Linked DNA regions of Homo sapiens: regions 1, 2, 3 and 4 are each linked to region 5. Evidence: promoter capture Hi-C in human tissues and cell types (Jung and others, 2019). All regions are on one chromosome and are shown on one strand. Each heading gives the region's core, a stretch centred on a gene start or on the middle of the fragment in contact. The rest is flanking DNA. Distances are from core to core; before and after follow the strand shown.

Region 1 (2,700 bases), core at 37-2,536, 520 kb before region 5:
TTTTGTAAAATATCATTATATGTAGGGGGTGCCAGAAGGAAGACTCTTGAAGGAATGGACACATTTTCCATCCCACAAGAAGTGATGATGAATATTCTTTTTTTTTTTTTTTTTGAGATGGAGTCTTGCTCTGTCGCCCAGGCTGGAGTGCAATGGTGCAATCTTGGCTCACTGCAAGCTCCGCCTCCCGGGTTCAGGCCATTCTCCTGCCTCAGCCTCCTGAGTAGCTGGGACTACAGGTGACTGCCACCGCGCCCGGCTAATTTTTTGTATTTTTAGTAGAGACGGGGTTTCACCGTGTTAGCCAGGATGATCTCAATCTCCTGACCTTGTGATCCACCCACCTCGACCTCCCAAAGTGCTGGGATTACAGGCGTGAGCCACCGCGCCTGGCCTATTATGAATATTCTTTACATTCATTCTGTTACTGGAAAGGGGTCCCAATCCAGACCCCAAGAGAGTGTTCTCGGACTTCACACAAGAAAGAATTTGGGGTGACTCCAGAGAGCAAAGCCAAAGTAAGTTTATTAAGAAAGTAAAGGAAAAGAATGGCTACTTCATAAGCAGAGCAGAAGCATGGGGTGCTCAAATGAGTATACTCAGAGTTGCTTCTTGATCATATGCTAAACAAGGAATGGATTACTCATGAGTTTTCCAGGGAAGGATTGGGCAGTTCTGGAACTGAGGGTTCCTCCCCTTTTTAGACCATATAGACCATTTGTAAACTGCCATGGTGCTGGTGGGAGTGTCTTTTAGCATCCTAATGCATTATAATTAACATCTAATGAGCAGTGAGAATGACCAGAAGTCACTTTTGTGGCCATGTTGGTTTTGGTGGGTTTTGGCCTGCTTCTTTTTTTTTTTTTTTTTTTTTTTTTTTTGAGACCAAGTCTCGCTCCGTCCCCCAGGTTGGAGTACAGTGGGACAATCTTGGCTCACTGCAACCTCCACCTTCCAGGTTCAAGCGATTCTTGTGCCTCAGCCTCCCAAGTAGCTGGGATTACAGATGTGTGCCACCATGCCAGGTTAATTTTTGTATTTTTAGTAGAGACTGGGTTTCACCATATTGGCCAGGCTGGTCTCGAACTCCCAACCTCAGTGATTCTCTTGCCTCAGACTCCCAAAGCGCTGGGATTCCAGGCATGAGCCACCACGTCGGCCTTTTGGCCTGCTTCTTTACTGCAACCTGTTTTATCAGCAAGGTGTTTGTGACCTGTATCTTATGCTGATCTTCTATCTCATCCTATGACTAAGAAGGCCTAACCTCCTGGAAATGCAGCCCAGTAGGTTTCAGCCTCCTTTTACCCAGTCCCTAGTCAAGATGGAGTTGCTGTGGTTCGAATGCCTCTGACATTTCTGCTCATCTCTGTTTTCTGACTTTTCTTTCCCAAGAGTGCATTACATTTGAAATAAAGATCGTAAAACAAAAGCCAATTAAAGAAACAATATAGAAGTTGGATCTAGGTTTATCTGAAATTTTTGTTTAGAAAAACCCTTAGGAAATTGGTGTGGCCAGTGAGCAGGCTTTTGAAGACTAGGCCAAATGTACGGCAGGGGGGCCTGACTACTGTCATTCCTGGACCAGGTCAGGTGGGCCTGTTGAGGTCCTGAAACCTACTCAGCACCTGAGTGCAAATGCATGATGCTTTTTGCTGGGTTTGGGCTGTTAGGAATAGAAAAGAAAAAAAAAATCCCGGCTGGGCACGGTGGCTACTGCCTGTAATCCCAGCACTTTGGGAGGCCAAGGTAGGCGGATCACTCGAGGTCAGGAATTTGAGACTATCTTGGCCAACATGGTAAAAACCCATCTCTACTAAAAATACAAAAATTAGCCGGGTGTGGCGGCACACGCCTGTAATCCCAGCTACTAGGGAGGCTGAGGCAGGAGAACTGCTTGAACTCAGAAGGCAGAGGTTGCAGTGAGCCGAGATCATGCCACTGCATGACAGAGCCAGACTCCGTCTCAAAAAAAAGAAAAAAAAAAAAAAATCTAAAATGTCAGGCATTGGCTTCAGGCATAAACCAGCTTGCATTTAAATTAAATATTGAGTGACTTTAAGGCTATAAACATTGATCTTCTCTTAGACCAGTCACATTTATGTCTGAGTAGTCAAATTTAGAGGTGCTAAAGTTTGTGTGTTTATGTAGATAATCCCCCATGCTTGACATCGATCTGAGCGCATTAGTGAGCCCAACCATTTATTATCGAAATGGAGCCAGGTCTCCTATTTTAGCTGCTCTGTAACACGGTGTTTCAGTGTATTCATGGAAGTCACATAAGGTGTTTTTTAAAGTTCACTTTGAAAAATTAAAATGAAATTAAGCTTAAACTGTTGCTATCTTTTAAAAAGTTGTCCAACAGCGACTTGATCTGGTCTTATGGAAATGACATATTTAAACCAGAGGAAGGGACAATATTTTCATTGTTTGGTTTTTGTGTCTTCGTTGGTTTTCAGAGCTATGTTTATGTGTTGCATTTTGCATTCCCTTCACGGTGAACTTGACCTGAAAATTTTTAGGGCAGCCAGGTGTTAAACTTTTTTTAGCACCATGCAAACTGGTTTCATTCTTCCAAAACAGGTTTTTGCTTTGGAGTATAAAATGACAAGGGAAATGCATGTAGCCAAGATCCTTATTTGAGCTCATTCGCACTGGTCTAGACCCGTCCAGTGAGCTGGGGGCAGGTCTTGAAGGTGTGAT
Region 2 (2,737 bases), core at 178-2,677, 570 kb before region 5:
CTGCTCTGCTATTGGACAGCTGAGTTCTTCCTACTAAGCCAACCTCTGCCTCCTCATGGCTCCCACCACTGACCCCCAGTGCCCCCAAAACAAGCCTATCCCCATCCAAAAGACCATCTATGTGTGTTTTCATGGGCTTCAGAGCCAGAGAGGCTCAGAGCTCAATTTCAGTTCTGCCACTTACTCATTTCAGCATATTAAATTATTTAATCTCTTTAAGCCTTTGTTTATTCATCAATAAAACAGAGCAGGGCTTAGCAAATCATGGCCCACAGGGTAAATCCAGACCATTGCCTGTTTTTATTAGAACACAGCCACACCCTTTTGGACACATAATGTCTGTGGCTGCTTTTGAGTTAAAACAGAGTTGAGTTGTTGCAACAGAAACCATGTGGCCCACGAAGCTTACCATATTTACTATCTTTACATAAAATGTCTGCCAAGCTCTGAAATAGAGGATCCCCATAAGAGGCTAGTTTGAGGAATTACATGCAGTAATATTTACAAAAAGATGCACATGGTGCTTGACTCCATAGCTAAGTAAAATACATTATTCATGAGATACTCGGGTTCTCCAGCTTTTGCCTTCTTTGGACTCCCCCAAGTTTGTCAGTGTCTCTCCCAGAACAGAACACTCTCATGTCCCAGATGCAGAATGACCTCAGCAAAAACAGAGAAAACAGAGAAACCAGCAACTCCCATTGCAGACATTCAATTTCTATGGTATAGACAAAAGCTGTATTTTCTTCTTAATGCAGTCACGAGGATATGGGTTCCATAGACATTTGTAATTATCAAAGCTCTCAGACTCTTCTCCAAAAGGACACTGTCATGACAAGTCTCCCTGCTGCTGAATTTGAGCAATTGCTTTTTCTCTCCAACTTAATTGTCTGGCTTCATCTTTGTATCTGTTACATTTAATCGTGTCGGGCTTTGTTCAATCCAACAATTAATGCGAACCCTCCTTCCATCATTCATTCATGTCACTCACTTAAATGTTCAATTTGGGGCTGGTTCTTGTGCTCAATTCAATAACCAGAAAACAAGTCACAGACCTAGATCATGGGAGCTTCCAGTCTTAAGGAAGAGAATGACATTTGAAAGTAATTATACAAATAGGTATGGAATTGCAGTGGCTATTTGAATGGAGAGGGAAAAGTGATTCAACAGGGCTCTGACACCCACAAGCCTCACCAGCAGGTTCTCCAGGTCATACCCATTGTCTGTCTCAGCCCAGACCTCTGGGACACAGGAAACTACGCACTCCTGGGACAGTCCATACAAATCAAAGTACAACAGCAACTGCCCTAGACCTCACGCTCAGACCATCTGGCAGCCTTTTCTCTCCCCTCACCAGCTCTGGACACCCAAGGTCAATATCTTCTCTCATCTCATTCCACAGGGGTGTTTTCTTTGCCCACTAGGTGCAGGCTCCTCCTTCCCTACACCAGCTCTAGCCTCCTAAGCACATCAGTCAAGACTGATCTCTCTTGATCTTGTAGTCCTGTGGTTCTCTACAGAGGGTGGGGGAATTTTGCGCCCCCTCACACATTTAGCAATGTCTGGAGACATTTTTGGCTGTCATAAAGAGTGTGAGGAGGTGGCTGTTACTGGCATCCAGTGGGTAGAGTCCATGGATGCTGCTAAACATCCTATTATAAATATCCTATCCTAAAATACAATGCACAAGACAGCCCCCACAACAGAAAACTATCCAGAACAGGCTGTCACTAATGCCGAGGTTGAGAACACCTGGTTTAGAGGAAGCAAGGCGAAAAACAGGCATTGAACACATCGTATGAGCCAGCACTGTGCTAGACATTTAAAACTTCTTTAAACTTCCCTTCCAAGACAGTGACAGTAGAACAGGACACAAAATGAGCTGCACCACCCACCACCCAATTTCCAGACATGGCTTAGCAGCTTGGGAGTCCAACTACTGCTTCCAGCATTTTAAAACACTATTCAAGGCCAATCATCTTTCTGAACCTCGGTTTTCAAATGTGAATTACAATACCTACCTCCAGCTGCTGGTCTAGAGTTCCTAGCAAATCTTAGTTTCCTTGTCCCCATTTCTTTCATGTCTTATTTCCAGTTTTCTCCAAGGAAGGCAAGGGTAGAGACATACATACATACCCACACTTGCACCCACCTGCTTACATTTTTACGTCGTCCACAAGAATCTGAATGAAGGAATGAAACCTCCAAGTCAAAACGCTCTCCTTGGCTGAACTCCAAAAAACATTTTTCCATGCTTCATCTCACTTCCTATTTAGGCTTTCCAATACTGTTGGTTGTGCAAAAGTCTGTCTATCCTACATGACTAGAAGCTTGCTGAGATAGAGGGCCCTGCCCAACACTGCAGCAAGATCATTCAGATATTCAATTAGCCCTTGAGGAATGAATAAATGATGGGCAAATATTACGGTTCAAATGACAGTTTCGTTTAACAGCCTATTTATGGTACCTGTTTATAGCTTATTTGTTGTCTATTTGTTAGTTCTCTTGATGTTTTACCTAAATTCACCTTATAGACCCAATTTCCAAGTATTTTCCTTTTCAGATTTTGTCAGTGTTATGTTACTTTTACAAACTAAAGATACCCACCCAACAAGCCCAAAGAACAAGAAATAATTCTTTAAAAGAAAGCAGCCTCTCGGCCAGGCATGGTGGCTCATGTCTGTAATCCCAGCACTTTGGGAGGCTGAGGTGGGTGGATCACCAGCCTCTGAGGTCA
Region 3 (2,700 bases), core at 102-2,601, 720 kb before region 5:
CATCTGCAAGATGGAAAATGGCACCCTCCCTGCACAGGTTCTTGAGCAGGTGAGAGAAAACCAAATGGAAAGAACCAGCACAGTGCCAGGCACAGAAGAAGCAAGCAGTGTTGGAAATTATTCACAGAAGAGCTGAGAATTGCCCTAACTACCTGGCCTTCTGTCTGAGAGGGAAAGGGGCAGAAGTCAGATCTCTGCATTTTGGTCTTGGCTCTACTGGACACCCCGACGGAGGCTGCAAAAGCAACACTTACACTTGCTGCCCTCCTCCTTACCAACAGGGCTCATGGACTCAATGAAGTGCATGCATTGAAAAGATATAGAAAGATGGCCAAGTGTCTCAGCACTCAGCTGTCCATCATCTCAACGTGAGCCCTGGGGACCAAGTGGCTGCAGAAGGGTGAGTTGGGTCCAGAAATCACGGTGTCTCTTGTGCACCAGCAGCCCACAACACTACATTCTAGACTGTGGGCAGTGATTCCCAAGTTGGCCCCATGACATAGAAAGAAATCCATGGAAAGGTGAAAGGCCACTTCACTTATTGTGTTCAAGAAGCCGGAGCCCCACAGGCCAGCCAGTTTTAGGAGCCTGCCCTTCACAGACATGCTGCTTATTGACGTCTGGGGAAATGCTCACAGTCATGACTTCTAGTGACACGTGTAATATGCTTCGCAAAGGAACAGATGGGGTTTCAACTGGGGCAAGCATTGACAGGGAAACCTATTTGTGTATCCCCAGTGAAAAGATGATCTGAAAGAATGTGCACAGTCATTTAAACATCTTTAGATAGTGTTGGGGAAAATATGGATTTTTTGTTAACCTACAGAATTATAAGGGCTCATCTACTTAGCACTCGGTCAACAAACACTCCATGTCCTGCCTGGACTATGGTGCCATTCATTTTTTCCTTCCTTCCTTCATACTTTCATCTAGCAGGTATTTACTGAGTGCGTATTATGCACAGGGCTATGGATACAGCAGTGAATAAAACCAACAAAAGTCCCTATTTTCATGGGATCCAGAATCTAGTGGGGAGAGCCAACAAGAAACAAATAGGTGAGTAAAATACAGTAGGTCAGGTGGTGATAGGTGCTATGAAGAAAAATGGGGCAGGGGAGATGAGGGGCAGTCCTGGGGGTGGGGGAGGGATAGGATTTAAAATAGGGTGGTCCAGAAAGGCCTCCCTGAGAAGGTGAAGCTCGAGTCAAAACCTGCAGAAGGTGAGAGACCAAATCACATGGATACCTGGGGAAGAGCCACTCAGGCCCAAGAATAGCAAGTGCAAAGGCCCCCGGGCGGTGGATGGCCAGCACTTTTGAAGAACATCAAGGAAGCTCATGGGGCTGATGTGGAGGGAGACGGGAGGAGGCGGAACAGGAGATGGGGGTCAGGGAGGCAATGTCAGGGGCAGATCCTTGGGGAAGCCCCCATTTGAAGGGCTCTGATTCCCATGAGAAGTTGCTAGAGCATCTGAGCAAGGAGGATGAGATCTCACTTACGTCTGACCAGGCGGCTGCGTGGGGACCAGGCTGTGGACAGGTAAGGGTGGAAGCAGGGAGCCCACTTAGGAGGCAGCAATGAATTCCCAGTGATTCCTGCCCAAGGGCTCACTCCTGCTAGGAGAAATCCGGATACGATTCCAATAGAGCAAGGAAGGCGAAGGGACTACCAGCCCACAGGGGCAAATCACACACACCGGAGAGGCTGGAACAGAGGAGGTTTCCTGGGCTGGAGGTGAATGTTGATGGATGAGGAGGAGTGGGTGCCACGGAGTCTTCCCCGAATGTTATGGGCTGTGTGCCCACATGCCCGTAGCGGGCATTCCAAGTCTCTCTCTGAAGGCAGAGCGCCATCAGGTACCCTCAGGGCAGAAGTGGGCAGAGAGATGTGTGCCTGTGTGTGCTGATGCTGTGGGCACACTATGCGCAGGGGGTGAAGGGGGAAAGGGGAGCTCCAGGGTGAAAGAACAGCAGGTGACAACTCCATGATGGGGGAGCCGGCAGGGGCTTCCCAGGACCCAGCCACAACTGAAGGGGAGAAGAGGGGAAGGGGAGGCTGGGCAGAGGCTGCAGAGTTCACATCCTGAAGGCAGAGGAGCCCCAGGTGGAGGTGAAAGTGGAGCCCACTGAGTGGCTGGCATTTCTAGAAAGATAAACGTGGGGCTGGGATGGACTGGTCCCAAGGGGCAGGAGGCTACAGTGCAGGGGTGGGTGAAGAGTCCGACTGGTCTGGAGGAGACTAAGGTTAAGGGTGACGCCCTTAACCAGGTGGGGGCTGGAGAGGCGGGTGCTTCGTGGTCATGGAGAAGTGGGAGGAGACTTAGTAGGCTGCCGGCTAGATGCAAATAGGTGAGGAGAGAGTAAGAAGGGTTTCCATGATCCTGGGCAGAGTGACAGACAGATGCGGAAGCCCTTTGCAGAGGCTGAACACTGGGGAGGAGGAAGCACAGAACTGGAGGGAGGGACCCTGGTGTGGGGGGGCCGAGGGCCTCTGAAGGTGCTGTGTGAGGCTGGCACTCAGGGGCAAGCAGGGACCAGAGACCTGAGCATGGGCCTCAGTGTTGGACAGCTGCAAGTCTGGGGGCCAGAGAGGGCCAGGGGGATGGAGAGGGAGAAGATGGACCAGCAGGAAGCAGAGGCCTAGGGAGAAGCAGGACGCGGGGACTTTCTCAGCCCAGGCAGGATTGTCAGGGCGTGCCAA
Region 4 (2,912 bases), core at 259-2,758, 780 kb before region 5:
CTGCCTCATAAATGGTGCCCAATGAATACTTGTTGAAAGTGTAAATAAAACAATCTTAAACATGTGAATTATGGAATGTTTAAGCTGTATTACTGGAGAAAAGAGACCAAGTCTCCTGGAAATTATTTTTCTTATTAACTTATTAACAAAGAGATAATCATGAACATTTGTGAAATTCAGGGTTTAAAGCTGTATATATACACCTTCCAAGTTGGCAAACTTAAAACACTGAATTGCACTATATATGTATTTCCCCCAGTATCAATGCTGTGGGAAGCCCAAGCCATGGGGAGGCCCCGGGCAGGTGCTCTGGTCAATAGCCCAAGTTGAACGTCCAGCCAGCACCAGCATCTGCAGCCAGCCATGTGAGTGAGCCTTTGCAGATGTCCAGTTCACTCAAACCTGCAGATGTCTCAAGCACAGATATAGACCTCCACGTGAAAACCACACAGCCAAGTCCAGGCAGAATCATGTGAAAGATGTTCCTTCCCAGCCATTGGGTTTCTGGGTGGTTTGTTTTACAGTAACAGAACCAAAACAGTCTGTTCACTGCACTCCCAGTGGCTCCTTTATCCTGAAAATCTACCTCTTGACCAGCTTCATCTCCCAACACCTGGACCCAGTGACTTTTACTGGGTCTGTAACCACAGGGTCTTTTCTCAGGGTTGCTGATGTGCTAGTCTCTGCTAAGATGCTCACCTCTTCATCTTCCCTTATTGACTAGCTGCTCTAGCCATCTGCTTTAACTTCTTCCTGGAAGCCCTCCCTGCTAACCTCACTCTCCCTAACTGTTCAGCTCCTTGAGGTCAGGGTCTGTCTCTTCCACAGTGGTGATGACCAGCATGTAGTGGGTGTTGTATATAAATTCCAGTTTATCAAATCTAAGCCCCAACCTGCACGAGGGATTTAGCCTGGGAACCTCCCCAAATCTTGCTACCCCTGGTGACTTTTATTACAATACCCAAAGAATTTCACAGATGCCACATTTGCCATTTTAGGTCAAAAAGTTTGAAATTTTAGCAACTACTCGGGAAGGGCACATGAGAGTCCAGCAAGGCATGTGGTCCAATCGAGATGGACTTGGACAGAACCTCCCGGGGGCTTTGTAAGCTGAGACTCCATTGTACACCTGGTTACCCTCCTCTGTGATATGGAGTCTATTCATTGGACATTCTCATCTGTTCTTTATATTTCCTTCAGTTGGAACAAGAGACTTCTGAAAACACACAGGTGATGGAAGTATGGGCTGTTTAGCTAGTGCGATGTGGGAAGTTTTTCTATTTAAAAAAAAATAAATCAGGTATTTTCAGGTAGCTTGCTCTAAATAGGGCAACAGATTGTCATTTCTAGCCTCTCACTTGTCTTTTATTTTCTGAGGCCAGAGCACCACTTCTGAACCCCAGCCTCAAACCCTGAAGTTTATTCCTCATCCCTTGAGGACCCAAAAACAAACAGCCTTGGCAATGCACTAGTTCTTAACCCACCTTGACTGCAAAGTGTCCACAGGGCCTTCACCAGCAGTGGGCGAAGATGCTCCAGAAACAGGCTGAGACCTTTGCCCTGTAACTTGACTGAGATGCAACCACTTTGGGTGAAATAAACACGATCACTAAAGTCCTTTTCTAGTATTAAAATTATATATATGTATGTTCACTTTTCTAAAAAGTGAATATTTTTCTTTATTCAAACAATTTTCCTTTGTCCTCATAGATCATTTTCAAATTTTGCTGCAATCAAGGATTGGTTAAGACATAGCCACTGGGCAGCTGACATGAGATCTGTACATCTGTGACTAGAAGACCCAGAAGGCCACCCACTCTTCCTCCTAGTGAGCCACTGGCACAGCAGTTATGGCTTAGAGCCCAATTATGTTCTTTATTACACAAAAATTCAGTGCATCAAAAATAGAAAGAAGCCCCACCACTACATTTGAAATTAAATTTTATTTAAACAGGTAAAAATTTATACATCCTTTTAAAAACGAAAATGCAAAGTCAGTAAGTGAATCAATAATATAAACCTATTTATAGCAGTAATTAAAATAGAGGTAACATTTACCAGTGTGAAAATATCACAGAATTCAAATCACACTCGGATCTTCAATGATTCGAGTGTGTATCCGACACAGCGGGGGCTGGTAGACTGAAGATGAATTCCTCCCATGCATGCGCCATCCCCAGTCAAGTCCTTCCTCATCACCGTCCACCAGCTCACACAGTGGGGTAGCTGGCTGCTGAGGCAATTCCACAATGGTTTCTCCGGTCTTTGGCCATCTTTACGTAGCCACCCATGCCCCATTCTTCACCCCAGCTGAAAAAAGAGCAGGTTTTCCATTTCAGAGAAAGAATAAAGCCCAAAGGGTTATTAACAGGAACACCCAACTTAAACACTGTGCCAGAGGCCATAGACTTAACAGAAAGAATCAGGACAGGCAATGTTCCTGTTTATCCTTAAAAAATTCTTGACATAACCTGGACATAATTTCCATCCCAGCCTCCAAACTGTGACCTTTCACAGAACTACAGATCAGAGACAGGAAAACAATAGGATGTCTTTGCAGCCAGATATGCCTCAGAATTTAAAAACTGTTCAGATTTAGATACACCTTTATACAATGGAACAAATACTATATTCATACTCCCAAGATATTTGTGACAGTTTCTTACTTTTATAATCAAACATTAATATTATATGTTCAACTTAGACTTCTGGGGATTTCAGAAGTATGCCTAAGGGCATGTGGAACTGTATCCAAACACTGTTTGCAAATAAGTATTCTCTTTTGAATTTCAAATGTAAGTATTTCTGGCAATTTATACCTGTTCTTCACCAGCCAATATTTATTGTTATCTGATTCTGTGCTTTCAAATCCGTAGCCAACCACCAGCACACCATGATCCATGTCTTCACTG
Region 5 (2,700 bases), core at 24-2,523:
CTGAGCGCGTCGGAGCCCCGGCTCCCTCTGCTTCTGGAGAGGAGATTTAGCCTTAATTTTTGTGACAGATGGAGTTGATAGTCTCTCCACGGAAAGGGGAGGAAAAAAGCGCCAGTTTTTGACAGGCCGCAGACGCCCGCTGCCTCTGGTGGCGGAAGGCTGCGTTGCGCCCCAGTTAAGGTAGCTCGGAAACTCCCTCGCCGAGAAGGCAGAGGTTTCCTCTGCAGAGCAGCCTCCCTTAAATATACTGAGGGGCTGAAACTTACACTTTAATATAAACCTTTGGTGCGTGCCCATTTATTCCGTCTTCTGTCCTGTGACTGCGGCCAGGTGGTAATTGCTCGACATTCCTGAATATTTTTAATGCTAGTTAAATTTTTTCATTATTGCACGTGTTGCAAGCTTATCTTCCTAAGAAATTATTTCGGTTGATTGGATTTCGGTCTTGCAATTTGAAAACGATGCCTGGCGCACGGGCGGTACCTGCCAGATGGCCTAGCTGGGGCTGGGGGGTGGCGGGCGGGTTGTAAGCATCTCATCAACATCTCCCTAATAAAGTGTGTGCTTCTTTCTTGTATGCTTCTTTAAAACAGTTTCAGTCTCACATTTTATCTCTGGATTCTCCCCTTCCCCTCTGTGGTGATCAAGACCCAAAGACAGGGAGCCTGGAAGATAAACTGAGTTCTGAATCCAGTCGAAAGCACAGATGGGGGCCAGCGAGAATTAATAAAACTACAAAAAAAAAAAAAAAGAAAAAAAAAACAAACAAAAAAGGCCCGTGGCTGAGCCGGATGCAAACAGCTGCCCCTAAGCCCTGCCCGCTGGTTCTGTGCGCGAGCTGGGGCTGCATATCCGAGCCTCCTTAAGAGTAGGAGGAGCTCCGGGCCTCCGTCAGGCTCCCTAAGCCGTTCCTTTCAAGCCCTGAATGCCTGAATGTGAGCTGCCCACCACCCTCCCGCCCTCCCCCACTCCGCAACCCCACTCCAGCGGCTCGTAAAAAAAAAAAAAAAAACTTTCAACAACAACAGGCAGGACCAATAGCATCTCGAAAAGCCGGGAAAGGGGGCCGAGCAAAGGGCGAAAGAGAGTGGAGAAAGGAGAAAGCGGGCAGGCTCGGAGCGCGCGGGGCCGGGGCTCGGCGAGCCGGAGGAGCGTTGCTAATGTTTTTGTTTGTTTGCTTTTCCATGCATGCATAATGAGGGGGCACCGCGGCACCACGCGGGGGCTCCCGGCCCACTTTTGTATTTAAAGCCTCGCTGCTAACGAGTCTGCAGCCGGGCTCAGCGGATCCGCTCCCCGGGCTCTTGGTCACCCGAGAAGCTGCCGCCGAGTGAAGCCAGGGAGCCGCTCTCCGGCAGCGCCGACTTTCTTGTTCTCCCCGCGCTTCCCGGAAAGAGCTCCCCGGAGCTCTGCGGAGGCCGGGGTTGCCGCGGGCGGAGGGGGAGGGGACGCGGGGCGGCCGGGCCGCGGGAAGGCGGGCAGCGCGCGGACGCCGGGCCAGGAAGCGGCGCGATGCGAGAGACCGCGGCGGCGGTGGCGGCGGCGAGGCACTGAGCCCAGGAGGAAGGAGCCGCCGCGGCCGCAGCGCGAGCAGCCGGCACGGGGACAGCCGGCCGCACAACGGATCTGCAGGCGCGGAGCAAAATGCACCCGCCGCGCCGCGCGGTCCTGCAGCCCCGCCACGGCCCCGCGGCCCGCACCCCCCCGGGGCGACAGTGAGCCTCTCCCGCCACCACCGGGGGCCGAGCGGAGGGCTCTCGGGTGGGAGAGCGGGACCAGATCTCGACAGCTGTTCATTTCCAGGAAGCCACCGCAGCCAGAGCGAAAGGGGACCTTCTGCCACCAGCGGGGCATCAGCCAGCGGCGCGCATGGATTTATGAAGACACTCATGCAAGAAGTGGGCAGGACTTGGACAAACTTTTCCACCGGCTCCGCGTCCGCCGCTCCCCGCGCCTCGTCTCCTTTCCCCTCCTCTCCCGGCGGCCGCCGCTGCCCGCGATGGTGGCCGCGCTGCTGGGCGGCGGCGGCGAGGCCCGCGGGGGGACAGTGCCGGGCGCCTGGCTGTGCCTGATGGCGCTGCTGCAGCTGCTGGGCTCGGCGCCGCGGGGATCGGGGCTGGCGCACGGCCGCCGCCTCATCTGCTGGCAGGCGCTGCTGCAGTGCCAGGGGGAGCCGGAGTGCAGCTACGCCTACAACCAGTACGCCGAGGCGTGCGCGCCGGTGCTGGCGCAGCACGGCGGGGGCGACGCGCCCGGGGCCGCCGCCGCCGCTTTCCCGGCCTCGGCCGCCTCTTTCTCGTCGCGCTGGCGCTGCCCGAGTCACTGCATCTCGGCCCTCATTCAGCTCAACCACACGCGCCGCGGGCCCGCCCTGGAGGACTGTGACTGCGCGCAGGACGAGAACTGCAAGTCCACCAAGCGCGCCATTGAGCCGTGCCTGCCCCGGACGAGCGGCGGCGGCGCGGGCGGCCCCGGCGCGGGCGGGGTCATGGGCTGCACCGAGGCCCGGCGGCGCTGCGACCGCGACAGCCGCTGCAACCTGGCGCTGAGCCGCTACCTGACCTACTGCGGCAAAGTCTTCAACGGGCTGCGCTGCACGGACGAATGCCGCACCGTCATTGAGGACATGCTGGCTATGCCCAAGGCGGCGCTGCTCAACGACTGCGTGTGCGACGGCCTCGAGCGGCCCATCTGCGAGTC

The links. The method cuts DNA at HindIII sites, captures the fragments that hold promoters and counts their contacts. A contact is called where the count stands out against the background at its distance.
Region 1: a fragment that was not itself captured here is called in contact with the fragment with the promoter of GAS1 in region 5 in 1 of the 25 tissues and cell types used here (H1 embryonic stem cells).
Region 2: a contact is called between a fragment that was not itself captured here and the fragment with the promoter of GAS1 in region 5, in 1 of the 25 tissues and cell types used here (dorsolateral prefrontal cortex).
Region 3: a contact is called between a fragment that was not itself captured here and the fragment with the promoter of GAS1 in region 5, in 2 of the 25 tissues and cell types used here (H1 embryonic stem cells and lymphoblastoid cells).
Region 4: a contact is called between a fragment that was not itself captured here and the fragment with the promoter of GAS1 in region 5, in 1 of the 25 tissues and cell types used here (mesenchymal stem cells).

What each region holds. Positions count from the first base shown.
Region 1 is chr9:87,465,963-87,468,662 of GRCh38, reverse strand. No RefSeq gene overlaps it. Among named protein-coding and RNA genes, the nearest start is that of DAPK1, 31 kb to the left of the region's middle. The HindIII fragment of the contact is 3,393 bases long and covers 1-2,700 here.
Region 2 is chr9:87,512,868-87,515,604 of GRCh38, reverse strand. All of the region lies in intron 2 of DAPK1 (death associated protein kinase 1), which reads right to left. Among named protein-coding and RNA genes, the nearest start is that of DAPK1, 16 kb to the right of the region's middle. The HindIII fragment of the contact is 3,649 bases long and covers 1-2,737 here.
Region 3 is chr9:87,663,546-87,666,245 of GRCh38, reverse strand. The region is part of intron 18 of DAPK1 (death associated protein kinase 1); the gene reads right to left. Among named protein-coding and RNA genes, the nearest start is that of CTSL, 61 kb to the left of the region's middle. The HindIII fragment of the contact is 5,074 bases long and covers 1-2,700 here.
Region 4 is chr9:87,730,406-87,733,317 of GRCh38, reverse strand. It overlaps CTSL (cathepsin L), which reads right to left. Exons shown (of 8, transcript NM_001912.5): 7 at 2,820-2,912; 8 at 1,849-2,310. The coding sequence ends at 2,211. Among named protein-coding and RNA genes, the nearest start is that of CTSL, 5.7 kb to the right of the region's middle. RefSeq lists a silencer at 711-2,210. The HindIII fragment of the contact is 6,197 bases long and covers 1-2,912 here.
Region 5 is chr9:86,946,079-86,948,778 of GRCh38, reverse strand. GAS1 (growth arrest specific 1) reads left to right here and starts at 1,273. Exons shown (of 1, transcript NM_002048.3): 1 at 1,273-2,700. The coding sequence starts at 2,000. It overlaps GAS1RR (GAS1 adjacent regulatory RNA), which reads right to left and starts at 81. Exons shown (of 7, transcript NR_049794.1): 1 at 1-81. RefSeq lists silencers at 2,063-2,142, 2,213-2,282. The HindIII fragment of the contact is 5,107 bases long and covers 1-2,700 here.